Regions from separate parts of the Homo sapiens genome. Here all the other regions are linked to region 2. Evidence: promoter capture Hi-C in 16 types of primary human blood cells and fetal thymus (Javierre and others, 2016). All regions are on one chromosome and are shown on one strand. The core of a region is centred on a gene start or on the middle of the fragment in contact, and the rest is flanking DNA. Distances in the headings are between cores, read along the strand shown. Region 1 overlaps C1GALT1 (core 1 synthase, glycoprotein-N-acetylgalactosamine 3-beta-galactosyltransferase 1). Region 2 holds the start of GLCCI1 (glucocorticoid induced 1). Region 3 overlaps LOC105375138 (a long non-coding RNA gene). Region 4 overlaps C1GALT1 (core 1 synthase, glycoprotein-N-acetylgalactosamine 3-beta-galactosyltransferase 1). Region 5 holds the start of LINC03016 (long intergenic non-protein coding RNA 3016). Region 6 has its middle 17 kb from the start of C1GALT1. Region 7 has its middle 34 kb from the start of C1GALT1.

Region 1 (4,158 bases), core at 611-3,110, 760 kb after region 2:
GCCTGAAACCGCAGATAGTACTGAACCTTACACGTACTATGTTTTTTCCTAAATATACACACCTATGAGAAAGTCTAATTTGTAAATTAGGCACAATAAGATATTAAATAATAAAAAAAATCATGACAATATGCCATCATCACTATTCTTGTGCCCTAGGGTCATTACGTAAAATAAAGGTTAACTTTATTGAACCTTTATTTTAACTTTATTGAACCTTAACTTTATTGAACTGAACACAAGCACTGCAATACCACGAGAGTCAACCTAATAATCAAGACAGCTGCTAAGTGACTATCGGGTGAGTAACATATACAACGTGCATATGATGGACAAAGGGATAATTCATGTCCCAAGCAGGTTGAAACAAGATTTCATCATGCTACTCAGAAAGCATGTAATTTAAAACTTATGAACTGTTTATTTCTGAAGTTTTCCATTTAATATTTTTGGACCACTGTTGACCATAACTGAAACTTCAGAAAGTGGAAGCAGGGATAAAGAGGGACTATTGTATTACATATCCAGCTTAAGGCACAGGCACAGAAAAGACCTGAAAATACCTTAATTGTACAAAATCTCAGACTGATCTTTGGCAAAGAGACTGCAACAATTAAAAAAAAAAAACAAAGAAAAAAAGCACACCCTGAGGAAGGGATACTACCTAATTTCCAGAATTACCACATTAAATTAAATTTAAGCATCCAGTTTTCAACAAAAAAGTCACAAGGTATACAAAGAAACAGAAAAATATGGCCCACTAAAAGAAAGAAAATAAACTAACAAATTGTCCCTGAAAAAGACCCGATGGTAGATCTGTTAAACAAAGACTATAAAACAACTTTCTGAAAAATGCTCAAAGAACTAAAGGAAAATGTGGACCAAGTTAAGAAAATGATGTATGAACAAAATGGAAATATGAATAAAGACATGGAAAATCTGAGCCAGGCACAGTGTGCACAACTACAGTCCCAGCTACCCAGGAAGCTGGGATGGGAGGATTGCTTGAGCCCAGGAGTTTGAGTCCAGCCTGAGCAACAGAGTGAGACCTCAAAAAAAAAAAAAAAAAAAAAAAAAAAAAAGCAACAGAGTAAGAGAAACACAGAGAATGAAAACCTAAAAGGATACACACAAAAATTCTGAAGCCGAAAAGTACAATAAATGAAATTAAAAATCCACTAGAGAGACTGAAAGGCAGATCTAGACAGGAAGAAAAAAAGAATCAGTGAACTTGAAGAGAGAACAATTGAAATTATTGAGTCTTAGGAAAACAAAGAAAAACGGCTGAAGAAATGTGAAGGTCCTAAGGGACTTGTGACACCATCAAGTAGGCCTACATAAACACTGTCATAGTCCCAAGTAATGGAGAGAGAAAAAATGTTTGAAGAAACAATGGTTGAAAATCCCAATTTTAATAAAAGGCATGAATATAAACATCTAAGAAGCTGAAAAAGACTCCAAGTAGAATGACTTCAAGGAGACTCACAGCAAAATATATTATAATGAAACCACTAAGAGGCAAAGAGAAAATCCTGAAAGCTGAAAGAAGTAACTAATCACACATAAGCAGTCCTCAATAAAATTATCAGATTTCTCATCAGACACTTTGGAGGACAGAAGGCATAGGCCAATATAATTAAGATAATAAAACAAAAAAAAAAATGCCAACCATGAATCCTACATCCACAAAAACCGTCCTTTAAAACAAAAGCTGAGACATTCTCTTCTTTTTTTTTTTTTTGAGACGGAGTTTTGCTCTTGTTGCCCAGGCTGGAGTGCAATGGCGCGATCGTGGCTAACTGCAACCACCGCCTCCTGGTTTCAAGCGATTCTCCTGCCTCAGCCTCCCGAGTAGCTGGGATTACAGCAGTATGCCACCATACCCAGCTAATTTTTTTGTATTTTTAGCAGAGACAGGGTTTCTCCATGTTGGTCAGGCTGGTCTTGACTCCCGACTTCAGGTGATTCGCCTGCCTCAGCCTCTCAAGACATTCTTAAATAAAACATTCTCAAGTAAAAAGCTGAGAGAGTTTATTACCAAAAGACCTGCTCTGTAGAGCAAAATTCTCCCAGTCGAAACAAAAGAATACTAGATAATAACTTGTAGCTATATGAAAAAATAAAAATTGCAGTGACAGTAAATACATAGGCAATTATAAATTCTAGTATTATTGTAACTTTGGAACTCCACATTTTTTTACATAACTTGAGACTAACACATTAAAAAATTAGTTTATATTTTTTGACACACAATGTATAAAGATATAATTCTGCAACATCAATAAGTGGTGGGGATGGAATTGTAAAGAAGCATAATTTTTTTATGTTACTGAAATTAAGCTGGTATAAATATTGTAATTTTTAAATATTAAGTGTAATCATCACAGTAACCAAAGAAAATAGCTTATAGAATACACACAAAAAGAAATGAGACAGTAATGCAGGAAATAAGGACAAAATAGCTACAAAGCACATAGAAAAAAATGGCAAAATGACAGAAGTTCCTCCTTATGATTTTAAATGTAAATGGTTAAACTCTAATCAAAAGGCAGAGATTTGCAGAATTGATAAACATCATCCAACTACATGCTGTCTACTAAAGACTCACTTTAGGCCCAAAGACACAAACAGGGTGAAAGTGAAGGCATGAAAAAAAGATATTCCATTCATACAAGAACAAAGAGAACAGAAGTGCCATACTAATATCAGACAAAATTGACTTTAAATCAAAAAAGGTTACAAAAGACAAGAAGGACATTATATATTAATAAAAGATTCAATACAGCAAAAGATATAACAATTATAGTTGACCCTTGAACAACATGGGTCTGAACAGTATAGGTCCATCTATATGTGCATCTTCTTCTACCTCTGCCACCCAGAAGACATCAAGACCAATCCTTCCTTTTCCTCAACCCAATGTGAAGACGACAAGAATGAAGGCATTCATGATTATCTACTTCCACTTAATGAACTGTAAATAAATTCTCTCCTTTATAATTTTCTTAATACATTATTTTCTGTAGTTTATCATAAGAACACAGTAAATAATACATATATAAAATGTGTTAATCAACTGCTTACATTATCAGTAAGACTTCCAGCGGCAGTCTATTAGTAAACTTTAGAAAAGTCAAAAGTTACATGCAGATTTCCGTGGGGGGGATAGCATCCCTAACCTCTGTGTTGTTCAGGGGTCAGCTATATAAACACTTACATACCTAATAACAGACCACTGAGATGAACGAACCAAAGGTGAAAAAAATGAAAGGAGAAATAGTTCTATGATAACAGTTGGGAGACTTCAGTACCCCACTCTCAATAATTAACAGAACCACACAGAATGGAGAACTTGAACAACACAATAAACCAACTTGGTCTAACAGACATAGACTGAACATTCTGCCTAACAATAACCAAATACATATTGTTCTCAAGTACACAGGGGATATTTCCCAGGATACACCATGTTAGGCCACAAATAAAGTGTTAATAGATTTTAAAAGACAGATAGCATACAAAGTATCTTCTCTGAGCACAATACAATGAAGTTAGAAATCAATAAAAGAAGGAAAATGGAAAATTCACAAATGCGTGGAAATCAAACAACCAATGGGGCGAAGAATCAATCACAAGAGTAATTAGAAAATACTTAGAGACAAACGAAAAACACAACATAAGAAAATTTATGGGACACAGATAAAGCAGTGCTAAGGAAGACATTTATAGTTATTAACACACGAAACAAAAAGAAAGTTCTCAATTCAAGAACCTATTTTTACAACTTTAAAAACCAGAAAAAGAACAAACTAAACCCAAAGCTAGCAGAAGAAATAAAACAATAAAGAACAGAGATAAACAAAATGGGAAACAGGAAAGCAACATGGAAAAATCAATGAAACTAAAAGTTGGTTCTTCAAAAAGGAACAAAACTGATAAATCTCTAGCTAGACTAAGAAAAAAAGAAAAGACTCAAATTACTGAAATCAGAAATGAAAGTAGGGCATTGCTAATAGTTTCACAGAAATACAAAGGATGATAAGAGGATACTATAAACAACCGAATGTCAACAACTGCATAACCTAGATGAGGAAAAACTGTGAGAAACACAAAACTTACTGAAACAGAATAACAAACAGAAAATCTGAAAATCCTATA
Region 2 (4,186 bases), core at 1,121-3,620:
ATGCATACAGATTACAGGATGTATTTCTTGCTGCTCATGTACTCATCCCACTGCACTACATCCTACACTGGTTCACCATCAAGTGGTCAGAAAACAAGTGCGTTAGCAACATGCTAATTACGGGTCTGAAATATTAAAACAAAAACACCAAGACTGCAATGTATCATAATGCAGACAACCACTTTCTCCAACTCTAACACCTTCATCAAGAAAGCTCCATTAAAAAAAAAAATTCCACATACCACATAAACAATGTACAGACTTTGACAGTGTTTCCCTTCCAAGCAGAGATTTTTCCACCCAGTATGATCTGTTCCCTCCACAATGCAGCAGCAGCATCTGTAGCTCTAGTTCGGTATCTAACAATATTAGCTATTCCACTCTCCCTTATGAGCTTTAAGTCCCTGTTTTGGCTAATCTTCCTTTTCTCCCCCAGGGCTCAACTAAATCATGCACTGTGTCCCTAGACATAAACAAAACCAAAGCAAAACAGAAAACACTAAGGGAAACCCACAGCATCCACCAGCTCACCATTACCTTTGACACCTAACAAAAAAAGAAACTTGAGATCCTTGAACAGCTCAACTGAACTGTTAAGTGTACTTAAAAATGGAAGGAAAAAAACGAACACGTTCCACAAATAAGTTTTCAGAAATTTACCATGAAAATCTCCGGTAGAGCACAAACTGTTTCCAGTGCAGGAGTGCTCTGATGCATGAATATATAAAGGGGAGGGGGAGAAAGAGAGGGAGAGAGAGAGGCGGGGTGGCGGGGGGCTGGGGGAGAGGGAGAGAGGGAGGACTGAGGGAAAAAACCGTATACACTTCAATTGTACATTCAAAACTGTCCCCTCTAGCAGATATCATTACATCCAGCCGATATCCTTACATCGAAACTAATGCCACCAACCCTCTAAAAAATAAAATACTATCCCGGTAGTTACAGGCACGTTAGGAACTTTGCAGAAAAGCACAAAGAGACGGTAGAGATTACAACCGCCACCTTATCCGCTGCTGAAGAGTTTGTGTGCGTGTTAAGTGTTTCGCCCAGCTTCTCCTTCCCCGGCTACAAACGGCAAACACACGAATGAGCTAGCCAGCTCTTAAACTGAAAAACCTCTCGAAGCAGGCGAGTGATGGAAGAGAGACTCTGAGGGGCGGCATGAGGGTCAAATAAAAGTCGCTTTTCAGTTCGCTCCTCCAAGCCCCACAGCGACCGCAGGGGGGTGAGATTCCCAAAGCCACTTTCACACCTTCGATAATGCACTAGCAAAGAGAAGCCCGAAGAGGCTGAAGTTTCCACGGAGGGCACCGTCGGGGAGACGCAGCCCGGGAGGACGGGAGGGTTGGGCTCGCTACCTCTGCACACGGGCGAGCCGGGGCTCCGTCTCTCAGGTGAGCTGCTCCTCCGGTGGCTCTCTGGGGACCGTCTCGGGCGGCCCTTGGCCCGCGGCGCCTGCTCGGCCGGGGCTGCGGCCGCCGGCGGCGTCGGGCTGGACGGGCTGGGGCCGCGGGCCGCGCCGGGCCCCGGGAGGCTGCCCAGCGAGGCGGCGGCAGCGGCGACGGGCGGACGCGTGGGACTGTGCTGGCTGCCCCGCAAGAGCTGGTAGGGCACCGTGGCGCGGATGGGCTGCAGCAGCCGGCCGGCTCCCGCAGCCGGGGCGCAGCCCACGCCGCCGCCGCCGCCCGCACCGTTCCCGCTCCCGGCGGCGGCGACGGCGGGCGGGGACCCCGCGGCGCTGCGCCTCATCCTCTGCGACGGGGGATGAGGGGTCTGAGAGGAACTGGAGGAGGAGGAGGAGGAGGCAGTGGACATGGTGGCTCTGCGGGCCCTGGACGCCGCCGGCCGACACGGAGGCGCGGGGCGGGAGGCGCGCGAGCGTGTGGGAGCCGGCGCGATAGTGCGTGCGAGTGTGTAAGGGGGAGGGGCGGGGGTATCGCTGTGGGGGAGGAGTCTCGGGGCTCCCCCTCCCCAACGCACACCCCCGCCGCCTCGGCGAGGGGGGAGGGGAAGGCTGCGAAAACAAACGTCCAACGGCCGCAACCGCCCGGCTGGGCTCGGTGTGGCGGTCACGGCCGGGGCCGCAAGGAGCCCGGAGCCGCCGCCGCCACCGCTCCAGGCATCGTGCTGACAGGGCAACGGCCCGGATCACGCAGCCCCGAGGGCCGCTCGCAGCCTTCTCCTCAGCCCTCGCAGGGCTGCACGCACGGGAGAACCCGGCAGCTGCAAGGAGGGCCGGGACCCCTGCTTCTGGGGACCAGGGTAGAGAGAAAGGGCCTCGAGGTGCTGGCGCTCCTCGGAGTCCGCGCCACCGCAAACGCCGCCGCCGCCGCCGCCGCTTCTACCCACTCCTCACTCCGAATGGCAACTAATTCGCCCCAGCCGCACCCCGCCCCCGGCACCGCCTCCCAGCGCCCAGGACCCGGCAGCTGCCGCAGCGAGCATTTCCATTGGCTTAGGCGCTCCCCACTAGAACTCGAGTGATTGGTTCTGGAATAGGAGTGAGAGAAGCAGTGTCCAATGACAATGGTGCCTCCTACTTTGAAGGCGGGGCGTGAGGGGTGGCAGCGTGAGGTGGGGGCTGTGCGCGCAGGGAGGAGCGTAAAAGTTGACAGCCTTGAGGTAAGTGCGAGACTAGGAAAGTGGGACTGTGTGTGTCCTGCGCGTGTCCCGACACCCCCAGACACGCAAACGCCCCGCTAGGCAGGTTGCAGGGGCTCCACCCTCCTGGGCCGTCTGTATGACTTGAGACACAGGACACATGAGGCAAACTTTAATTTGCAAGTACACCTGCATCCGGTGGGATGTTTTAGTTAGAACCAGAAGACTGGATCTCTTTTAGTAAGCTGAGTTTTCGTGACCAGTAGCCTTATTAATCAAAAGAACTTCTGGTGATCAGGAGAAATGTCTGGAACCTGCACTGAACAAAGTAAAATACTCTTACAGCCTAACATTTGTAGTTATGCAGTGAAAAGAGATTATCAAGTTCTATGTTCCAAGACAATAACACTGAATAGCAGGGGTCAACAAGGAATTTTATGTCATTACACCATCAGTTAGATATATTAATGAAGGGCGCCCCTGGCTTTTCCGAAGCAGATAGCTTCTTGGGAGGAATAAATACCAGATGTAATGTAATAATCCATTGTGGTAAATTTGTTTTTTATTCTGTAATGAAACTGAAAGCGTACAAAGATTTTGGATGACTATCAAAAACATAAATTTACCCCACAGTAAACCAAGGTTTTAAACCTTAATCGGGAGCAATTAATGTAAGGATCTTCATCAGATAACTTTCATTAATTTTCAAGAGGTTAAAAGAGAAGCACAATGTCAAATTGGTCTGCTCGTGGTGTCTGCCCACACTGACAAGCTTCCTCTGATTTCAGGCACTATATGCAGGGGTCACTTTCACGTACAGGAGCCATCCTTCTTTTCTTCCTTGTGTGTTCAGACGAGAAAGCATACTAGGTTCAGTAAAAAAATTGATGAAACTCAATAAAAATACAAAAATTTCATGCAGTACTTCATCCAAGTAAAACTAGTGATAGTTCCTCAGTTTACCACATATTATAATAAGAGCTAACATTTATTCACCATGTGCCAGCCGCTATTCTAAGAACATTATGTGTGTTAATTCATTCAGTCCTCATATAATCCACAAGGTAGATACTATTATTATCCTTACTGTGGTCTCAGTTGTGGCATAAATAAGCTGTCTTGCCTGAGATCACATAGTTAGTATATGGGGAGCTAAAAATTTCACCCAGACAGACTGGCTCAAGAGTCTGAGGAAGCACTCTGCTATAGTACCTGGCAGCTCAAAGCTGTGGGGTACATAATCTGTAGAGTATTCACAATGGCCCACAAATCTCATCTGTGAGATAAGTTCCCATCAGTTCAAAGGAAATTTTACAAATGAAGACAGACCACTACTTTTTTTTTGTTTTCCAGAATAACATATATTTTAATTATGAATAAAAACTTTACTCTTTCAAATTTTATATAAATGGCCTATCTCATTAATTTAAAAACTGCATTATTTTGTGTGTAAAAAGAATGATAAATGATTTCTTTTCAGTGACTTTTCTCAGAATAGCAAGAACAAAAAATCTGACAGATTAAAAATATGTAAAGCTGGCTAGGTGCGGTGGCTCACGCCTGTAATCCCAGCTCCTTGGGAGGC
Region 3 (4,003 bases), core at 380-2,879, 860 kb after region 2:
TGTACAAGAATTCCAGTTGTTCAACATCCTCACTATTACTTGAAATCTCTAAACTGGCTGGATGTGGTGGCTTACACCTATAATTCTAGCACTTTGGGAGGCTGCGGTGGGAGAATTGCTTGAGGCCACGAGTTCGAGACCATCCTGGGCAACATAGTGAGACCCTGTTTCTACATTAAAAATGTTTAAAAAGAAAAAGAATTTAAAAATTAGAAAAATCTTTAATCTATTTTTTTTTTTTTTTTTAATACGGAGTCTTACTCTGTCACCCAGGCTGGAGTGCAGTGGCGTGATCTCGGCTCACTGCAAGCTCCGCCTCCCGGGCTCATGCCATTCTCCTGCCTCAGCCTCCCGAGTAGCTGGGACTACAGGTGCCCACCACCACACCCAGCTAATTTTTTGTACTTTTAGTAGAGACGGGGTTTCACCATGTTAGCCAGGATGGTCTCGATCTCCTGACCTCGTGATCCGTCCGCCTTGGCCTCCCAAAGTGCTGGGATTACAGGCGTGAGCCACCATGCCCGGCCTTTAATCTATTTTATTTTTCTGATTCTGATGGCATTGCACTGTGGTTTTAATTTGCATTTCTTTGATTATGACCTAGAGTCCTTGTTTTTTAAAAACATTCATGTACCCTTTATTATTCTATAATGTCTTCTATTATGGATATTTATGTACATGTCTGAGAGCAGAGATTAAATCTTGAATATATTTGTACACTTCAGGTCATCTAACTTTTGTATAGTTAGTAATCGATAAGTATTTATTGAATAAATATGTAATCATTATTACCACTAATTAAGTATTTCTTTTGTGCCAGGTACTATAATTAGCATTTTATATACGTCGTTATATTTGTTTGACACCCATATGCTTTTAGATAGCTAAAAGTATTCCCCTTTTCCAGATATGGAAATTAAAGCTCAGAGAGTTTAAGTGATTAAGTTTTTCTACTAGGTTTTCAACTAGTGAATGAAGGAGCTGAAATTTAAAGTTTTATCTCTTTTACTCCACATTCTATGCTCTTAATTACCATGCAAAAAGGGAGCATGAAAGAAAATTTGAGTTTATTTTTTTTAAGGTGTCTGGTTGCAAGAAACAGAAACCAATTTGAAATGGCCTAAACAAAGAAGGGAGAATTTATTACAAGAATTTAAGGGCCATATGAAGAGGGCAGTATTTGGGGAACAAGAAAGAAGGGGATCAGTTTTGGAAAGCCATTAGGAATCTGGGATATATTCTCTTTCCATCTTTGATCTCTGCATTTCTGCCTTGTGTCCATGTTACTATTCTCCTCTTGCTTTAGCTTTCTCTGCTGATCTGCCCTTATGACAGAATACAGCAACTCCACAGCTCCCAAGCATACAAATTGTACCTAACAGCCATGAAAATAGACTGGCTGGCTTTCCTTTGGTCTGGATTCCACATTCCTGAGAAGAAAAATGATTAGCTCAAACTAGGTCAAATTTTCCAATTAACTATATCCAGATGAGTAGGGAGTTACAGACTACCAACAGGATTCCTAGAAGCCCAAGCTATTACTTGGGGAGCCATTTCCAGAGAAGGGAATGGCTCATGGGTTCAGTAGACCCTTCTAAAAGCATCTATCCCAGAGTTCCCATCCAGGCAATGCAGAGGCCCAGAGCAACGTATAAAGGAGGGTTGTCTTTCTTCCTGTGAACTCTGAAAATTTGGCACAGGTCTCAGTTAATTTAAAAGTTTATTTTGCCAAGATTGAGGATGTCCCCATGACACAGCCTCAGGAGGTCCTGACAACATGTGCTCAAGGTGGCTGGGGTACAGCTTAGTTTTATACATTTTAGGGAGACACGAGACATCAATCAATATATATAAGAAGTACAGTCAATATATGTAAAAAGACAGGTGAGACAGGAAGGGTTGCATTATTTTGAGCTTCTGCTTAGTCCTTCCAAAAGAGGCAATCAGCTATGCATCTCAGTGAGCAGAGGGGTGACTTTGAATAGAATGGGAGGCAGATTTGCCCTAAGCAGTTCCCAGCATAACTTTTTCCCTTTAGCTTAGTGATTTGGGGGCCTCAAGATTTGTTTTCCTTTCACATTTACCCTCTTTTCTTTTTAAAAATATTTTGGAGATGGCATTTAACTAGAAAATTAGTCTCTGGTCTCAGGTTTCACCTGATCTTTCATGGCTAGGATGGTTTATTCCTAGAAGAGCAAATAGTGGAAGAAGAAGGGAGAAAAACAACAAACAAAAGAACACTCCTGGAAAATCAATATAGGCCCCACTACTCTGAAGTCTATAAATCAGTAGCAGGTATGAAAGTGGCTTATGCATGTAAATAGGTGGCTGTTATTTTCTTCTGAACTTTAAGTTGTCTAGTTTCAGTTTGCAGGGCTTTAAGAAAGCACAGCTTGGTTTTCAGTGACTCCCAGTTAGGAAAAATTGAAAAAAAAAAAAAAAAAGAAGGAAAAAAAAGAAAAAAAAAATTGAAAACATTATTTTGAAGACTTGTAGTCAAGAGAAAATTAGAATTTAGCCCAAACTGTAGAAATAATAAAAATTGAAAAACATTAGACAAGACTAGAATCTAACAACAGGTGTACAATTGTTTTTGAAACATAATTTTTCTCTCTCCAGTTTCCCATTTTTGCTAAAGACAAATCATGGTAGGATTGGTTTGCTTTATTATACTTGGCCTAATTACTTATATACAGTGCAAAAAAAATTATTTTTTACATAGGCTTTATATTGGCTTTGATGGAACCTTGTTCCATAGAAGGAATACCAGATAAGATGTTTTTAAAGCAGAGCCCAGCCATGGATTTGTGCCATCAAATACCTGTGAGTTGGGTGAATTTTCTCTCCTCTTGAGGTTCCAAGATAAACCGGGGGCCTCTACGCCTGTTAGAAGTGACATTCTTTACTTACCACAGGTCAGAAACCCTGTACAGGGACTGTGTACACAAAATATGAGGCCAATTTTTTCAAGGGCTTTATTGGCTCCATAAGTCAAGTTTGATTCCTTAAACGAAAGCACACCATTCCAGTCAAAGCCTTGGTAAAATAAGCAGTTTCTCCAATTGTGGTCTGTTATTAATGAAAACAGATTCTTATTGCACTTATGCAAATAACTGTATTGCCATGAGTTAAGAATACTTACAAATAGTTTCCAAATTCTGGAGAAATCAGCTAAAGAGAAACAAATATGCTCCAAACTTTGTTTATGGGAGTATACTAAATTGTTAAAAGCTGCCAATAGCTCAAAAGAAAAGTTTTAAGACTCTGAAAAGCAAAACAAAAGATCAGCAACATTTTAAGCAAAAAGTCAAAAAGATCAGTTCAGTCCATGCAGTTAATTCCTGTTCTGCTTGATACTCATGAATATTTTATAGCTCTCCATGAGTCCTGAAAGTTTTTCCTCTATTCTGATGTCACAATCTCCAAAGTTATCAGAAACCTGCATTCAAGAGCACCTGTTAGAGTTTTGTAGCTGATTATAAAGCCACCTTCTAAAGAGGACCAAAACAAGACAAAAATTGTCCATGGATGACAAAAAGTTTTAGGACAGCCATAGTCAAAAACACAGTTGAAAAGGACATTTGTTACCTCTGCGGCACACAATAATTTTAACATAACAATTATGATTATTACTGATAATGTACACTGAGTTATATAGAATTATAGGAATTTCCCATAATTTTGGAACACATACTAATAACATATTTTAAAAATGCAGCCCTCAAAAACCCAACACCATTTCATATTTGACAATGCTTCCTATATGATTTTTGTACCAAATAAGCCAAATTATGTTATTTTCTGAACTTTAGGGAACCTAATATGTTAAAGCTTTAATTAGGTCAGAAAAAGACATAATTTATAATTTGATTTTGGAAAGTTTGTCAAATATCAAAGGTTTTAAACATTTGATATCATAAAATAGGATCACAGGTCATTGTAAAATAAGTCATTCATTTAACCAAAGTGATAACTTCTGGACTTTAAAAAAAAGGCAAGAACC
Region 4 (4,062 bases), core at 906-3,405, 740 kb after region 2:
TTCTGTAAAGAACTAGAAATAAAATATTTTTGGCTTTTTGGGTCTCATGTGGTTTCTGTTGCATCTTCTTCTTAAACAATCCTTTATAAACGTAAAAAAACACTTGTAGCTTGTGGAGGACTAGGGTCAGCACAGTTTGAGGACCCATGGACCAAACCTGGCCTGCTACCTGTTTTTGTAAATAGAGTTTTATTTGAACACACCCATGCCCATTCATTTATATACTGACTGCGGCTACTTTTGCCCTAAAACAGCAGAGTGAATAGCTACAATAGAGGCAATATGTCTCACAAAACCGTACCTAGCCCTTTATAGAAAAAGTTTGCTGGCTAGGCACAGTGGCTCATGCCTGTAATCCCAGCACTCTGGGAGGCCAAGGCGGGTGGATCACTTGAAGTCAGGAGCTTGAGACCAGCCTGGACAACATGGTAAAAAATTAGCTGGGCATGGTGGCATATGCCTGCAGTCACAGCTACTTGGGAAGAATAAGGTGAATACTTGGGAAGAATTGGTAAGAATAAGGTGGGAGAATCACTTGAACTCAGAAGGCGGAGGTTGCAGTGTGCCAAGACTGCACCACTCAACTCCAGCCTGGGCAAAAGAGTGAAACTATCTCAGAAAAAAAAAAGAAAAAGTTTGCTGACCTCTGCTCTATACTGCAAGATCTAGATTTTGGATGGAATCTATAATATTAACGAGATTAAGTAGGGTACCTGGGACACAGATGCCTGTTGAACTGCCCCACAACCAAACATTGACATAAACGCCCTTTTTAAGCTTTTGTTAACAATTACTATATGGTGAAGTTATAAACTTCTATTAAATTCCTTAAAAGATTGGTCTTAACTCTAGTTTCCTATTCCTCAAGATAATTAAAAAAATAAGTTTACTAAGCATTTATTATATACCAGAAGCTGTCCATACATTATTTCATTTTAAATAAAATTTAATTTCAATGTCCTTTTTCATTCTCACTAAACCCGTCTGCAGATGAGGAAAGAGAAATTTTAAAAAGGTAATTTTAAACAGGTAATTAATTCATATAGGCTGACACAATCAGAAGGAGCCACAGTTTGAATGTAGGTCTGTGTGCTTAAAAAGCCCATGCCCGGCTGGGCGTGGTGGCTCACGCCTGTAATCCTAGCACTTTGGGAGGCCAAGGCGGGTGGATCACCTGAGGTCAGGAGTTCAAGACCAGCCTGGCCAACATGGTGAAACCCCATCTCTACTAAAAATACAAAAATTAGCCAGGCGTTGTGGTACGTGCCTGTAATCCCAGCTACCTGGGAGACTGAGGCAAAAGAATCACTAGAACCTGGGAGGCAGGACTGCAGGACCGAGATCATGCCACTGTATTACAGCCTGGGTGACAGAGCAAGACTCTGTCTCAAAAAAAAAAAAACAAAAAAAAAAAACCCACGCCCTTTCCATTACATTTCTCAAACTCTTCACCTAATCACCACTAACAGCAGAGGGCAATGGGCAGTGAAAGTAGAGGTCTGGGAAATATAACCCTAAAAATCAAAATTGCTTTGAAATAGTTTGTGAAAGCAAAAGTACAAACCAACAATCACCACTACAATAATAAAAACAAAACAACTTCATGTATTTCTGGAATGGCTGACTAGGTTCTTTTAGTACAACCAAGTGCAATCAGAAAAACTGAACAAAATGTAAAAAAATATAAATATGTGTTTGAAGACACTGGTAAGATATCAAGGCAGTGAGAATTAGTAGGGCCAAAATCTGGAAGAAGGAAGGAAAGAGGCAGACCAGACATCTGGCACTGCTCTATCCTCAAGACAATGACTGATTCTGAAAGAGAAAACAGCAAGGGCAATAAAGCTAAGCAAAAATTAATGTCCAAAGTCTGCTTAGGAGAAGAGGTCCTGAAAAACACCTATGCTCTTATCAAGGACTCTGAAAGGCTACAATCTGAGAATAAGAACAAAACAAAAATAGACCAATCTTTACAACGGCTGAAGTCTACGTTAGAGTCATCTCAGCCACTGACTGGATGATCCGCCCTAGCCTAACTGTAAAAATATTCTCCTGGAGAAATATAAAATCATGAAGAACCTCAAATTATCATGACGACTTTTTTTTTTTTGGTATACAACATGGACAAAATTTTGATACACAATGTCCAAAACAACCAGGCATCAAGATGAAAATTACGGCTAAACACAAAAAAGTAGACAATAGAAACAGAGCCAAAAGACTCAAATAAGATTTTCATATTTTTAGCTTAGAAATAACTATTCTTAATAAAGTCAAGAAATTAAATGGCAAGATTAAGAAATTAGGCATAGAATAGTCACAGCTGAAGAAAAAAATTAATAACCTAAAAAGCTAGGTCAGAAGAAAATACGCAGAATGAAGTATGGAAAAACAAATGGATTGAAAAAGAATTGAGCAAAAAAACAGAATAAAGTGAAAGGGTCTAATGTAAGTGTTAACTGGAACCTTTGAGGGAAGAGACATAACTCAGGAGAAGTGGTATTTAAAGAAATAATGACTGAATATTTTCCGAAACTGACACAGTACCAACCCTCACATTAAAAATCTACAAAACCCAATGAAGATTACAAAGAAAAAGAAAATGTTACCTAAGTACATCAGTCAAACTACTGAAAACCAAGGACAGAAAAAAAAACTTCAAAGGTGTAATAAGATTGACAGCTGACTTTTTAGCAGCAACAACAGAATCAAGACTGCAGTGAACTATTTTTAAAGTGCTAAAAGAACAGAACTACCAACCTAGCATTCTGTATCCAGCAAAAATGTCCTTCAAGAATGAGCCTTAAAAACATGTTCAGAAAAACAAAACCTAAGTGAATTTATCACTAACAGTTCTATTTCTAATTCTTCAGGCAGAAGGAAAAGAATTTCAGATAAAAATTCAGAGATGTAGGAAGGAAGGGAGAGTCATAAAAAGGGTATGTATGTAAGTAAATCCAAATAAATATTGGCTATAATAAAACATTTTTTGAAAGTCTCACAAGATATTAGTATTATTACCATTAAAACAAATTACAAAACTGGCATCAAAAAGTATAAGGAGGATCCATAGAGTTTAAGAGCTCTAAAGTCATTTCACTGTCCAGGAGTTGTTTAAAAAAAAAAAACTGATTAATAATAGCCTTTAAAAGACCAAGGATGTCTAATATAATCTTTAAACAAACAAACAGTAAAACAATATAATTAAATTCAAATACAAAAAAATGAAATGGGAAAATACCCCAAATCAAGGCAATGTTAAAAAAAAAAAAAAAAAGGGAATATAGAATAGATGAGACAAATAGAAAATAAATAGTAAGGTGGTTGATTTAGAACCAAACATATCAATGATTATATTAAAAGCAAATAGACTAAAAACTACAATTAAAAAATAAAGATTGCCAGCCAGACTCGAGAAAAATAAACTCATCTACATGCAGCTTACAAGAGACACATATTAAATAGATTTATAAAGTTGAAAGCAAAATAATAGAAAAATATACCATACAAACAGTAATTAAAGGAAAGCTTATTGATACCACAAAAAAAACTAGTAGTTACATGGCTTGTTCTCTGTGACATTCATTAAGCTCTACATTTATGATTTTACATACTTTTCTGTATTAACATTTATTTCAGTAAAAAGTGTATACAAAAACCCATTCATGTGTCTTTATCCCATTAAGTACATACTTAATATATTCATATTTGATATAAAAATATCCCAAAATCTACAAGTAAAATTGACATGCCATGACAACACACCATGCTTATGCTGCATTATATATCTTATATTTCAGGCTCTCTCCTGAATTGTAATTCCAGTTTGGGAAGAAAAACCCTAAGAGGAAGAGGAGAGGTGAAGGAACAGCACAGTATAAGCAAAGCTGCCCAGTATCTTGAGATGTAAATTAACCATCTGAAACTATCAGATACATGTTTACACCTTTTGCTCTATCCTGACTGTACCTTCAAGTTCAGAAAGGTAGGCCTTCATGGATGATGAGTACATAGCCCCACTCAACGATCCTTCTCTCTACACCCAATCAAATTTGCCACAGG
Region 5 (3,922 bases), core at 645-3,144, 710 kb after region 2:
ACTGAAGCAGCAAGTTAACTGGAGTCACTGTCCCTAGGAGGCAGCCCAGGAATGGGCAAGAGGGCAACCCATTTCTGGGTACACATTACACTGTACCCTGGGAACCGCTGAGGATCACGAGGGGCATATTTTAAGGGTGGCTATTTCTGCCAGTAATGCTGGAAAGCATTCATGGCATAATGCCATGATATGTAGCAGAATCCACCACAGTGTCTGTACGAAATGTTTAAGTAGGTAATTCATTCTGTCAGTTATTAAGTGTTATGAATCTGAAATCATTAAAACAATGTACTGCACAAGAAATAGGCAGATAAGCAGACCAGAATACAGTTTATACACAAACCGATAATGAAATATCATGGGGTAATGGTGATTTAAAATAAATGTTGAAAGAAAGGATCGTCAAATAAAGTGTATTACAACAAACGGGTAGCCATTTTCCTACCTCACTCCATATAAGAAAATAAATTCTGGAGGGATCAAAAATATAAACACAAAAAATGAAACTATGAAAGTAAGAGGAAAACATAAGCATATTATAAATAAACCTTGGTGTGAGCAAGACACACAATTCAATAGCCCTAAGAAAAGATTAATTGGTTTGTGTGGGGAAAAAACAAGTACGAAATAATCATAACAGTTCTAATACATATAAATAAACCAATATTCAGAGAGTTTATAAAAATTTTTAAAAACCCTAGTAATTCAATATTAAAAACTGGCGAAGATGAAATGCAAATTACCAATGTATAAAAAAAACTCAAACCTTAAGTACAAATCAACAATTATCAGATATTAATGCAGTGATAAAACTAGTAAGTTCAATAATCAAAAACTTTGGTAAAAGGGGCAGGAAAATATACTCGCAAATGTTGAGTAGTAGTATAAGGTAGTACAGTACAGTTTAAGAAGGCAATTTGGCAGTATCTATGAATATTTAAATGCATACATTCTTTATCTCAGCAATTACTTGCTAGGAACTTATCCTATGGCTGTACCCACACAATCATTTCAAGGATGTTCAGTGCAGCAATAATTATAATAAAAGTATCCAACTCAATTATCAATAGAGGAATGGCTTAAAAATTGTGGCACATCCATACAGAGATCTAGTTAACTATTAAAAAGAATTATCTCTAAGTTATTAAACAGTAAGCAGAAAAGGCAAGGAGCAGAATGATGTGTTTAGTTTGGAAATGAGTACAGTTCTGTTATTTTCTGTTTATGGCTGGACAAAGGGACTGCTGGGTGGGGCTGTAGCAGATTATAGCTTTTCATTTTATATTCATTCTCTTTTACCAAGCACATACATTACCTTTGTATAAAAACTTAAAAATATTTTTAACAGGAAAGACATTATCCTCAAACCATGCAGTAATGCCCAACTTGAATATATTTATTCAAGATCTAAGGAAGGAAATTTCAGGGGTACTGGAGTTATTGAAAAATAAACCTAAAAACATGCCAATGAAAGAAAATGGCTGTGGGTCTCAGAAAAAAATGGTACACTGACTGCACCTGGGAAAAAACTGGAACTCTCGAAGAATTGAAGTTAACTGGGCTTTGGCAAATTTGTGAATATATCGACTCTTTCACATGAAGTTGTACCTGAGCCTTATTCTTTAAATCCAGTTCAAATGCCACAATTTCTTTGAAACTTCTCAGATCCCTAAACACTTAATATACAGTCCTCTTATAGTTCTTTGTAAATACCTCTATCATAGTCCTGAGGAGGCTATTTGTTCACTGGCATGTCAGCCCCCAACCCAAATGTGAGATCCTTCAGGCAAGCCTTAACCACAGGTTTCGCCCTCCTTTCTCTTCTATAGCTGACAAACCATGAGCCTGGTGAAAGTTTGTTGAATGGGTGATTTAATGACTGGAGGAAAAAAAAGAGCTGTTGCTTTTTTTGGATTTTAGGATAGAAAACTTGTAACTTGACATGTAAATTAATTATTAACTAACTCGACACAGTTTTCTCCTTACCAGTGTTAGGCACGACCCTACCTTTGTTTTGTCATCAGAGATCACTTGTTGCTTCAGTAACCAAGAGCACTGAGCTACACCAAGTGACAGTGCTTTGGAATGTCTAATGGTCACTGTAGAGAAAAGGAACCTGAGCTCTCCTCCCTAATAGCAAATACACACAATCTTCTGCCCACACTTGAGGTTTTGTTCTTTTTCTGGACTGTATTCTCCAACGTAAATGCGAGGTTTTTTGCCTGATGGTGTATGATACGTGGAGTTCAAATCAAGATTTTCTCAAGCAGAAAACCTGTTTAGGAGTCCCTCCATATCTATGAGAAAAGCATTTTGTTTAGAGGTCTCCATAAAAATGAAACAGAAGAAAGTAGGGGGCATATGGAGAACTTTTCTTCATAGTGAAAGGATGCTCACCATTTACTTCCTTTTAATTGATATATAATGTACATATTTATGGGGGAGAGAGTAATATTTTGATACATACAATGTATAGTAATCGTATAGTAACCTTTTTAAACTTTTTTGTTGTGGAGATGGAGTCTTGTTGCCCAGGGTGGACTTGAACTCCTGAGCTTCAGCCTTCTGGGTAGCTAGGACAACAGGCATGCAGCACTACACATGGCTTTGTTATTTAAAAAAAAAAATCCTATTATGTCCCAGGCACAATTGGAAACAAGACAGATTTGATCTCTGATAACAGTGCCTGGCAACTATTAGGATCGTTCCTAGAATCTATTTGCAAATGGTGGGAAAAGGCAGGGACCAAATATGTGAGTTCTATCTAGCAGTACAATGGGTCAAAGAAAAACAGAAAGAATGAATAAGATCTAGTATTTGATAGCACAATAGGGTGACTATAGTCAATAATTTAATTGTGTATTTAAAAATAACTAAAAGAGTATAATTGGATTGTTTGTAACACAAAGGATAAATATTTGAGGGGATGGATACTCCATTTTCTATGATGTGATTATTACTTGTTGCATGGCTGTATCAAAGTGTCTCATGAACCCTATAAATACGTACACCTACTATGTACCCACAAAAAATTTTGTTAAAGTACATAGCTCAGGTTGTTCAGGGAAGATAAGAAATTGCATTTAGTACAAAGACCACTAACCTGGGAGTCAGGAAAATTGAGTTCTGTTGCCACTTCTGGCATTATTTGTGTCATTTTTCTAAACTTTAACATCTCTAGATCTGTTTCTGAATCTTTCAAACGAGGCGTTAGAACATCTTTAAGCTCTAGAAATCAGTAGTCCTATATTTTTATGTGGGAAAGGGCTCAGTGTCTTCTATTTCCATGAATAAGAGAATAAGACTTAAGCCAGAACAGATCTAAGAAAGATATGAAAATAATCTGACACAAGGATTTGAGAATAAATAGTAACTTCCGAGTACTCTTCACCCTTGGAGTAGAAGGAGAGAAGGATGCTAAGACGGGTCCACATGAGGCTGCTGGTCCTTTGTATGGGTCAACTATTTACCACTCTTGAAGATGGATACCTCCTTCATCTACCCTCATTATGAACTAGTTCAGCAGTCTTTATACCCTTGATTGAAGAAAGTAATTTCTTATGGCAAGATAAAAGAATCCAAATCAGCTTTGAGATCTTTCCAGCTCATGTGTGTACCTGCTTACCTCTACTGCTGCTTAAGAATGTCTGTGGACATTCTTCACCACTGGTTGTAAAAACCCTAGGGAGCCAGGGCCAACAGCTTTTTTTTCCCACTTTACTTCTCTAAACTGTGACAGTATAAACATGATTTTTTAAAAGTTCAAAAAGGAAAACAGTGAATTATTGAATTTCTTTCCAATCCTAGTACCCTTCCCCAAAGGTACTGCCAACAGTTTTTGTATATTCATACATTTATAAGTTAAATCATATTTTTCCTTATTTGACATCATATCTATGTTTGGTCTTAATTCTGTCATCTA
Region 6 (3,707 bases), core at 84-2,583, 800 kb after region 2:
TCATAAAATTTGTCATGGCTTAGCACAGTTTAGTGGAAAGATCTTGGTCTTTGAAGTAAGATTGATGTGTTTGAATTCCAGCTGTAAATAAAAAGGACTAACATGATTAGTTAAAGTGGAGAAAGCTCTAAGAAGGAAGAACTCAGTCTAGGACTCCTTGTATAACTACTGCGGCATGCTTACTATTGTATTACACAGTGTGCTAAGCACTTGCCTTACTGATTTAATGTTTACACCAACCCTCTGTGGTAGGCATTAGCAACTCCATTTAACTGATTTTTAAAAAATGTAGTCTTAGAGATTAAGCAATTTGTAAATAGTATAACACGGATTTCAACCCGGTTGTTTTTAACTGCTTTATTGAGGTATAATTGACATTCAATAAGTATACATAAAGTGCATAATTTGATGTTGTGACATATGTATACACCCATGAAACTATCACCGCAGTCAAGATAATGAATGTATCTATCACCTCCAAAAGTTTCCTCCTGCCACTTCCCACCCTGCCCCATCTCCAAGCAACCACTGATCTGCTTTCTGTCAATAGAGATTAGTTTGCATTTTCTAGAGTTATAAAAATGATATCATACATTATGTGCTTTTTCATATCTGGTTTTATTCACTGGCATTGTTACTTTGAAATTAAACCATATTGTTATGTTTATCAATAGTTTATTACTTTTTATTGTTCAGTAATATTCTATTATAAGAATATACCACAATTTTTGTATTCATTCAAATACTGAAGGACATTTAATCCAATTGTTTCTCACCCTAAACCTGTGCTACACTCTCTTCCCAGTTCCATCACTTATTGTGTGGGCTTAGGAAACCTAATTATTCTCCCTGAGTCTTGGTTTTTCTCATGATAAAATGGCAGTAATATACGTTTTTTTCACATGGTTGTTATCAGTAAATGAGAGAACGTGAACACGCCTGGTACAGGTGTCCCTTATCTCAAGTGCCTGGGACCAGAAGTATTTTGGACTTCAGAGTTTTTGAACTTTTGGAATATTTGCATATACATAATGAAATATCTCTGGGATGGGACCCAAGTCTAAACATGAAATGTATGTTTCATATGCACCTTATACACATAACCTGATGGTAATTTTATACAATATTTTCAAAAATTTTGTGCATGAAATGAGTTTTTCTATTTTGACTGTGACTCATCACATAACATTAGGTGTGGAATTTTCCACTCGTAGCATCATGTTGATGCTCAAAAAGCTTTGGATTTTAGACCATTTCAGATTTTGGGTTTTTGGATTACAGATGCTCAACTGGTACCATGTGATCATAAATTGGTGCTTACAACTATTCATTTTTTTTTCTCCTGAAAGGGAACATATCGGAGAAGGAAATGAGAAAAGATATAGCAGTACATGCCTTTCTGGACTCTTTCTTCCTGTCTTGAAAGCTTTGAATTCTTGCATCTAGAGCTTCCTACACTGAAACGTCCTCTTAATCTTTCTCACTTTGATTTCTCCTACACCTGTCTCATCTGCACCCCATGGATATGATGTTTGTCTTTTCTCTTTAATCCAAATATGGACACAATTTTTTTCTTATTCCCTTAGCGTAACTGAAATAGAGTGATGCATTCACAAAAATTAAAGGATAAATTAAATGGGTATAATTATGTAAAAGGAAGCAATGGAAAAATAGTCAAGGCTCCTAGATGCGTGCTTTATTCCACATAATCCCACCACAGTGAGTAAAGGGGCTTTATTTAGTTCCATATCTGCTTGCACAAGGATCACCATCTTCTAACACAGATGGGTGGGCACAACCTGGCCTGAGCTCCTTCCTAACCTGCCTTCTGTCTTTCAGTTATCTGGCCATCTTCTCTTCCTGGCTACTGTGGTTTCTAGTTCTGTTCACATAAAAATGCCAGACCAACCTTTTATTCTAAATTCAAACTTCTCAGGCACTGTTTGGTCCTTCTCTGAGGCTTTCAAATCTAAAAGAAACACATAAATGAATAAAGTTGACAGGCAAGGTTAATCTTTCCTAGGGTTTCTAGGGCATTTTACTCACCCTACACATCTTAAATAATACAAAATAATATTTACATGCAATCAAAGGCAGCAAACCCAAGGTGAACACTGTAATGGTTTGCCCTGTTCCTCCTTCAGGACAGAAAGATTTATTTCCACAACTATTGGGAGTGCTGCCAGCAGATGACCTTCAGCTTACAGCCCTCTCAGGGAACTGCCTCAGGTGCAAACAACTTAAAGCCATGCCCCCTCAGGCACCCACATCCAATGACTGATCAACATAGGGGTATTAAAAATAGAGCTTTCCTTCCCTGACCTGTGATACTCTTTAGGGCCATTCCACCTTCAGAGTTCCTCGTCGGGTTGACTGAGGACTTTAAGACTATATCACAGCTCAACTTTTCCCACTGTCCAATCCTGCTTCTGTCTCTTTCCATGCACAGGTGCTGATCTTAAAAGTCTTCCCTAATAAACTTTCTACATGCTGATCTCCATTTCAGAGTCTGTTTTCTGGAAAACCCAGCCTATGGCAAAATGTAAAGCAAGAGGAGAGCTGTATCCCAATCCTCCTGAAATCCAAGCTCCTTTTTAGGTATCTCAGATCAATAGGTTATAGAATTTGACTTACTTCTGCTTACTTAGAGTTAGCTCTTCATACATCATAGACCCGTTAACATTAATGTTCCACATGAGAAATGAAGAAAGGTGTAAGGAAGGGATCCAGTTTCAGCTTTCTACATATGGCTAGCCAGTTTCCCCAGCACCATTTATTAAATAGGGAATCCTTTCCCCATTGCTTGTTTTTCTCAGGTTTGTCAAAGATCAGATAGTTGTAGATATACGGTGTTATTTCTGAGGGCTCTGTTCTGTTCCATTGATCTATATCTCTGTTCTGGTACCAGTACCATGCTGTTTTGGTCACTGTAGCCTTGTAGTATAGTTTGAAGTCAGGTAGCATGATGCCTCCAGCTTAGTTCTTTTGGCTTAGGATTGACTTGGCGATGCGGGCTCTTTTTTGGTTCCATATGAACTTTAAAGTAGTTTTTTCCAATTCTGTGAAGAAAGTCATTGGTAGCTTGATGGGGATGGCATTGAATCTATAAATTACCTTGGGCAGTATGGCCATTTTCACGATATTGATTCTTCCTACCCATGAGCATGGAATGTTCTTCCATTTGTTTGTATCCTCTTTTATTTCCTTGAGCAGTGGTTTGTAGTTCTCCTTGAGGAGGTCCTTCACGTCCCTTGTAAGTTGGATTCCTAGGTATTTTATTCTCTTTGAAGCAATTGTGAATGAGAGTTCACTCATGGTTTGGCTCTCTGTTTGTCTGTTATTGGTGTATAAGAATGCTTGTGATTTTTGTACATGGATTTTGTATCCTGAGACTTTGCTGAAGTTGCTTATCAGCTTAAGGAGATTTTGGGCTGAGACAATGGGGTTTTCTAGATATACAATCATGTCATCTGCAAACAGGAACAATTTGACTTCCCCTTTTCCTAATTGAATACCCTTTATTTCCTTCTCCTGCCTAATTGCCCTGGCCAGAACTTCCAACAATATGTTGAATAGGAGTGGTGAGAGAGGGCATCCCTGTCTTGTGCCAGTTTTCAAAGGGAATGCTTCCAGTTTTTGCCCATTGAGTATGATATTGGCTGTGGGTTTGTCATAGATAGCTCTTATTATTTTGAGATACATCCCAT
Region 7 (4,097 bases), core at 837-3,336, 820 kb after region 2:
AAAATTAGCCCAGCATGGTGGCATGCGCCTGTAATTGCAGCTACTCAGGAGGCTGAGGCAGAAGAATCACTTGAACCCGGGAGGCAGAGGTTGCAGTGAGCAGAGATCGTGCCACTGTATTCCAGCTTGGGTGACAGAGCAAGACTCTGTCTCAAAAAATAAAAGTAGAAATTATTGATTCTTTAGTTAGTAAAAAGCTCATTTATCTTGTAGCCTTCAACTAACTTTTGTGTTTAAGAAACCAACATGTAGGCTGGAAGGAGTGGCTCATACCAGTAACCCCAGTCCTTTGGGAGGCTGAGGCAGGAGGATCACTTGAGCCCAGGAGTTCAAGACCAGCCTGGGTAACAAAGTAAGGCCCCATCCCTGCTAAGAAAAAATTAAAATTTTTATTTTAAAATTTAAAATTTAAATTTACAATGCCAATTTAAAATTTAAAATGCCAGTTAAAATAATTTTAAAATATTTAAAAAAGAAGCCAACCTGCTAGATTTGTCACATAAGCCTCCATATACTCCTGTGATATAGCTATATAATTTGATTGATTAAACATGGCTTCCTGATCATCTCATAGGCCCTTGGTCAAAAACAAATCTTCCCTCATTATTATTTATTTAAAAACTGGATTCAATGATTTTATTTTGACTTCTAGCACTGTTTCAATTTCCTCCAGTATTCAAATAACAGGATTAGCAAGGTGGTGACCTGCTACAGAAGGGAGGGGCTGGTGACTGTAAGAGACTAATGGTAGGCATTTGCGCCCATGTGCGCACATACACGCACGCACACACACACACAGTACAGGTATTGAGATAGGATAAAAGAAGGTCTTTGTTCTTTAGAGTTTCTTAATTCCAGAGCCTTTTACCCTCCATGTAGGATAAACTGGCTTTTCTAAGTTCTGGGAGCTTTCTCAAAGGTAGTGGAATTCTGTTTTCGGAGAAACGGGAGAACTTTTTGTGCCCAAGGGTCTAAAGGAGAGGGGGTGGGGTCCTGGGGATTCGCATGAGGCCCAGGAAGTGTCAGGATCTGGGTACAATGAAAAGAACTCTTGTGAGTGAGTATTACTTCATACCCCATGTGATGGCCAGATAAGGAGGCCTACCCAGCCCTGTGTTCCTGAGGCTGCTTGTGGGAGTGGAGAGATGTCACCCCATCAGGCAGGCTGCCATTCTGGTCTCCTTCACCTCCCAGGCATTCCAGGAGGAGAATTCTGAGCAGTTGTATGTTTTCTTGTCAGGTTCTTTAATTCCACTTGTCTTAAGGACCTGTCACACCCTAGCCTACTCACCAGCAAACACACTGGAGACTCATGCTCACCAGAGACTACTGACAGCTGTGGTAATCATGCAATGCAGATCTCTTGAGTACTTAATACAGTCTTTTCTCAGTATTTGAGGGGGATTGGTTCTAGAACCACTGCAGGATACCAAAATTTCTAGATGCTCAAGACCCTTATATAAAATGGCATAGTATTTGCATGTAACCCTCATACATCCTCCTGTATATTTTAAATAATCTCTATATTACTTGTAATACCTAGTGCAATGTAAATGCTATGTAAATAATTATAATACTATATTTACATTATTTTTATTGTACTGTTATTTTGAACTTTTTCCTTAATATTTTTAATCATGGTTGGTAGAATTCATGGATGTGGAACCCACAGATACAGAAGATTAGCTGTATAGGCCAGGCTTTTGATCTGGGGTTAGACCTTTGAAGCAGGAGAACAAAAATTCCTTCCTTTATAAAGCTTAAATTTTGGTGGGTGGGGAGAGTAACACCATAAACAATCACGAGGTCAGATAGTGATAAGTGCAATGGAGAAAAAAAAAAAAGCAGAGAGTGCTGCAAGCAGGAGCTGTAATGTTAAATAGGGTGGTCACTGAGAAATGCACATTTGAAGAAAAACCTAAAAGAGGTTACAAAGAAAAACATGTGACCATCTCAGGGACAAGCATTTATAGCAGAGGGAGTAACAAGTTCAAAGGCCCAGAGGGGCCTATATCCTGTATTTTGGGAGAACAGTGAGATAAGTGAGGCTGAAGATGCATGAAGGAAGAAGAGATTTGAAATAGGTGAAGTACCTGAGAATCATGTAGGGCCTTGTAGGCCTGTGAAAGGACTTCAACTTTGCACTGAGTGAGATGAGGAGACATTGGAGGGTTTTGAGCTGAGGGGTGACATGATCTGACTCTCTTTGTGGTGGGGCAAAATCAGAAGCAATGATATCAATTGGGAGGCTATCGCAAAAGGTAATATAACTTGGACTAGGTTGGCTCCAAAGGAAGGGATGAGAAGTCATTGACTTCTGGATATATTTTGAGGGCACAGTCATCAGCATTTGCTGATAGATCAAATGTGGGGTATATGAGAGCAGGAGGCGTCAAAGATGATTCCAAGCTTTTGACCTACACAACTGGAGAGATTTTATTTATTACTGAGATGGGGGAACTTAGAAAGGAACATATTTCAGGAAAGATTACAAATTTGTTTTAGGCACATTAAGTTGAGATGCCTATTAGACATGCAGTTGAAGATGTCAAGTGGGTAGATGAATTTGTAAATATGGGGTTCACAAGAGAAGCCTATGCTAGAAACATAAACTGAGGAGTCATCAGTGAATAGATGGTATTTAAAGCCATATGTAGTACTAAATCCACATATGGGACTTTGGGGCAGAGTAGAGCACACTGGTACATATCAGACTGAGGATAACAGGGTGAGGGCACTCATCTGACATTAATGCTGCTTCAGTCCAAATACTGTAATGAAATTCGAATACTTCCTATAAGAAATTCTTAATGACAATTGTACTACTCATTAGAATCTCAGTTTTCACCAGGGATGATCCAAATGCCCAAGGGGACTAAAAAATAATACTGAATATGATTAAAGGAGAGGAGATAAACTCTTTGCAATGATAACAGGAGTTTGTGCAGAATCTCAGTGCAGGCTTGATGGAGAATCCAGTAGGTTCTGTGGGCCCCATGTGAACCAGAATGAGGGTGTAAACTGCTGCCCGCAATAGTAATTATCCACGACATAGAACCCATGAGGAACAGTTCTCAGAATACTCACTGCCACAGCCAATCTCCAGGTCCAAAGAAGAGGGAAGTGGTGGTCTATGATATATGTGGTCAACCCAGCCTCTTCCTACTCAAAAGAACCAGCATGATGTACCTCAAAAAGATCTTTCCAACTGGTTCCCACTGATGCCAAGAATACGATTGCTTTGTAAATTTGACCATAAGGTTGAGGAAGATGCTTACAATTGGTTATTAGCATGGACTTAAATGTGTGGTTTGCCTGTCAGTTGTTCTTAGAAAAGCATTTGTAAAATTGTAAACTAGCTACAGGCCAGGCCAATGAGGAAAGTCATTGAGGTACCCTACCTGCATCAGTAAGAGAGCAATGTAATTTTATTAAGGTGATTTGGGCTTATGTTATCAAGCTACAAGACATTTTTAATCAAAGGAACTTTTTAAGCAAACAGCCTTCTTTTGGATAATGGTAATACGTCCTGGGTTCAGAGTCACTGATTGCTTTCATATATGTAGCTAAAACATTTCCTATAAGAGTTGATAATGTAGTTGATACAAAAGAAAAATGAAAGACTTTTGATAAAGAAAGATAAAAATGTGTATGATTTGTCATTGTTGCCATTGAGCCTACCATTCAGGCAGGTAAAGCAGCTCAGATAGGCAGCATCTTTAATGGCCCACAATGCAAACTGCAAAACCTTCTCAGCAGAAAACAATTAGCTCATGTCAAAAGAAAAAAGTACAATCAATTTAGATAAAGATCTTAACTGAGATATTTATTGGTTTAACTGGCTTCATTTGCAATTCTAGAATAGGACGACACTTCGTTCCATAAAATAAGTGTTCCACTGAGATGTGCAGAAGGGTTTGGTTTTACACACAGAAAGGGATGAAGAAAACAGAAACAAAGAACAAAATGCAGTCATTTTAAAGTTACTTTTATTATAAGACAGGAATAGGGAGACAGAAAAATAGAAATATAACTGACTGACATCAGCTTACTGCAGGCGACTTTTTTTTTTTTTGAGACCAAGGCTTTGTCACCCA

Evidence for each region. The method cuts DNA at HindIII sites, captures the fragments that hold promoters and counts their contacts. A CHiCAGO score of 5 or more calls a contact.
Region 1: a fragment that was not itself captured here is called in contact with the fragment with the promoter of GLCCI1 in region 2 in 1 of 17 cell types (neutrophils); the score reaches 8.0 in neutrophils.
Region 3: a contact is called between a fragment that was not itself captured here and the fragment with the promoter of GLCCI1 in region 2, in 4 of 17 cell types (monocytes, total CD4 T cells, neutrophils and 1 more). The highest score is 7.4, in monocytes.
Region 4: a fragment that was not itself captured here is called in contact with the fragment with the promoter of GLCCI1 in region 2 in 4 of 17 cell types (neutrophils, naive B cells, monocytes and 1 more); the score reaches 6.6 in neutrophils.
Region 5: a fragment that was not itself captured here is called in contact with the fragment with the promoter of GLCCI1 in region 2 in 8 of 17 cell types (neutrophils, naive B cells, naive CD8 T cells and 5 more); the score reaches 10.2 in neutrophils.
Region 6: a fragment that was not itself captured here is called in contact with the fragment with the promoter of GLCCI1 in region 2 in 8 of 17 cell types (naive B cells, non-activated CD4 T cells, activated CD4 T cells and 5 more); the score reaches 10.4 in naive B cells.
Region 7: a contact is called between a fragment that was not itself captured here and the fragment with the promoter of GLCCI1 in region 2, in 4 of 17 cell types (erythroblasts, non-activated CD4 T cells, monocytes and 1 more). The highest score is 7.6, in erythroblasts.

What each region holds. Positions count from the first base shown.
Region 1 is chr7:7,204,260-7,208,417 of GRCh38, reverse strand. The region is part of intron 1 of C1GALT1 (core 1 synthase, glycoprotein-N-acetylgalactosamine 3-beta-galactosyltransferase 1); the gene reads right to left. Among named protein-coding and RNA genes, the nearest start is that of C1GALT1, 24 kb to the right of the region's middle. The HindIII fragment of the contact is 6,450 bases long and covers 1-4,158 here.
Region 2 is chr7:7,966,980-7,971,165 of GRCh38, reverse strand. It overlaps GLCCI1 (glucocorticoid induced 1), which reads right to left and starts at 2,370. Exons shown (of 8, transcript NM_138426.4): 1 at 1,359-2,370. The coding sequence starts at 1,815. It overlaps GLCCI1-DT (GLCCI1 divergent transcript), which reads left to right and starts at 2,414. Exons shown (of 5, transcript NR_110018.1): 1 at 2,414-2,622. RefSeq lists an enhancer at 908-997 and silencers at 1,478-1,557, 1,648-1,707, 1,788-2,187, 2,398-2,547. The HindIII fragment of the contact is 4,760 bases long and covers 1-3,375 here.
Region 3 is chr7:7,108,323-7,112,325 of GRCh38, reverse strand. It overlaps LOC105375138 (a long non-coding RNA gene), which reads right to left. Exons shown (of 5, transcript XR_927009.3): 5 at 1,051-2,883. Among named protein-coding and RNA genes, the nearest start is that of MIR3683, 43 kb to the right of the region's middle. The HindIII fragment of the contact is 4,408 bases long and covers 1-3,833 here.
Region 4 is chr7:7,229,838-7,233,899 of GRCh38, reverse strand. The region is part of intron 1 of C1GALT1 (core 1 synthase, glycoprotein-N-acetylgalactosamine 3-beta-galactosyltransferase 1); the gene reads right to left. Among named protein-coding and RNA genes, the nearest start is that of LINC03016, 23 kb to the left of the region's middle. The HindIII fragment of the contact is 2,751 bases long and covers 780-3,530 here.
Region 5 is chr7:7,253,264-7,257,185 of GRCh38, reverse strand. It overlaps LINC03016 (long intergenic non-protein coding RNA 3016), which reads right to left and starts at 2,032. Exons shown (of 4, transcript NR_108073.1): 1 at 2,008-2,032. The HindIII fragment of the contact is 9,696 bases long and covers 1-3,922 here.
Region 6 is chr7:7,163,303-7,167,009 of GRCh38, reverse strand. It overlaps a transcript of C1GALT1 not described here. Among named protein-coding and RNA genes, the nearest start is that of C1GALT1, 17 kb to the left of the region's middle. The HindIII fragment of the contact is 190 bases long and covers 1,239-1,428 here.
Region 7 is chr7:7,146,060-7,150,156 of GRCh38, reverse strand. No RefSeq gene overlaps it. Among named protein-coding and RNA genes, the nearest start is that of C1GALT1, 34 kb to the left of the region's middle. RefSeq lists a cis regulatory region at 891-1,368. The HindIII fragment of the contact is 650 bases long and covers 1,762-2,411 here.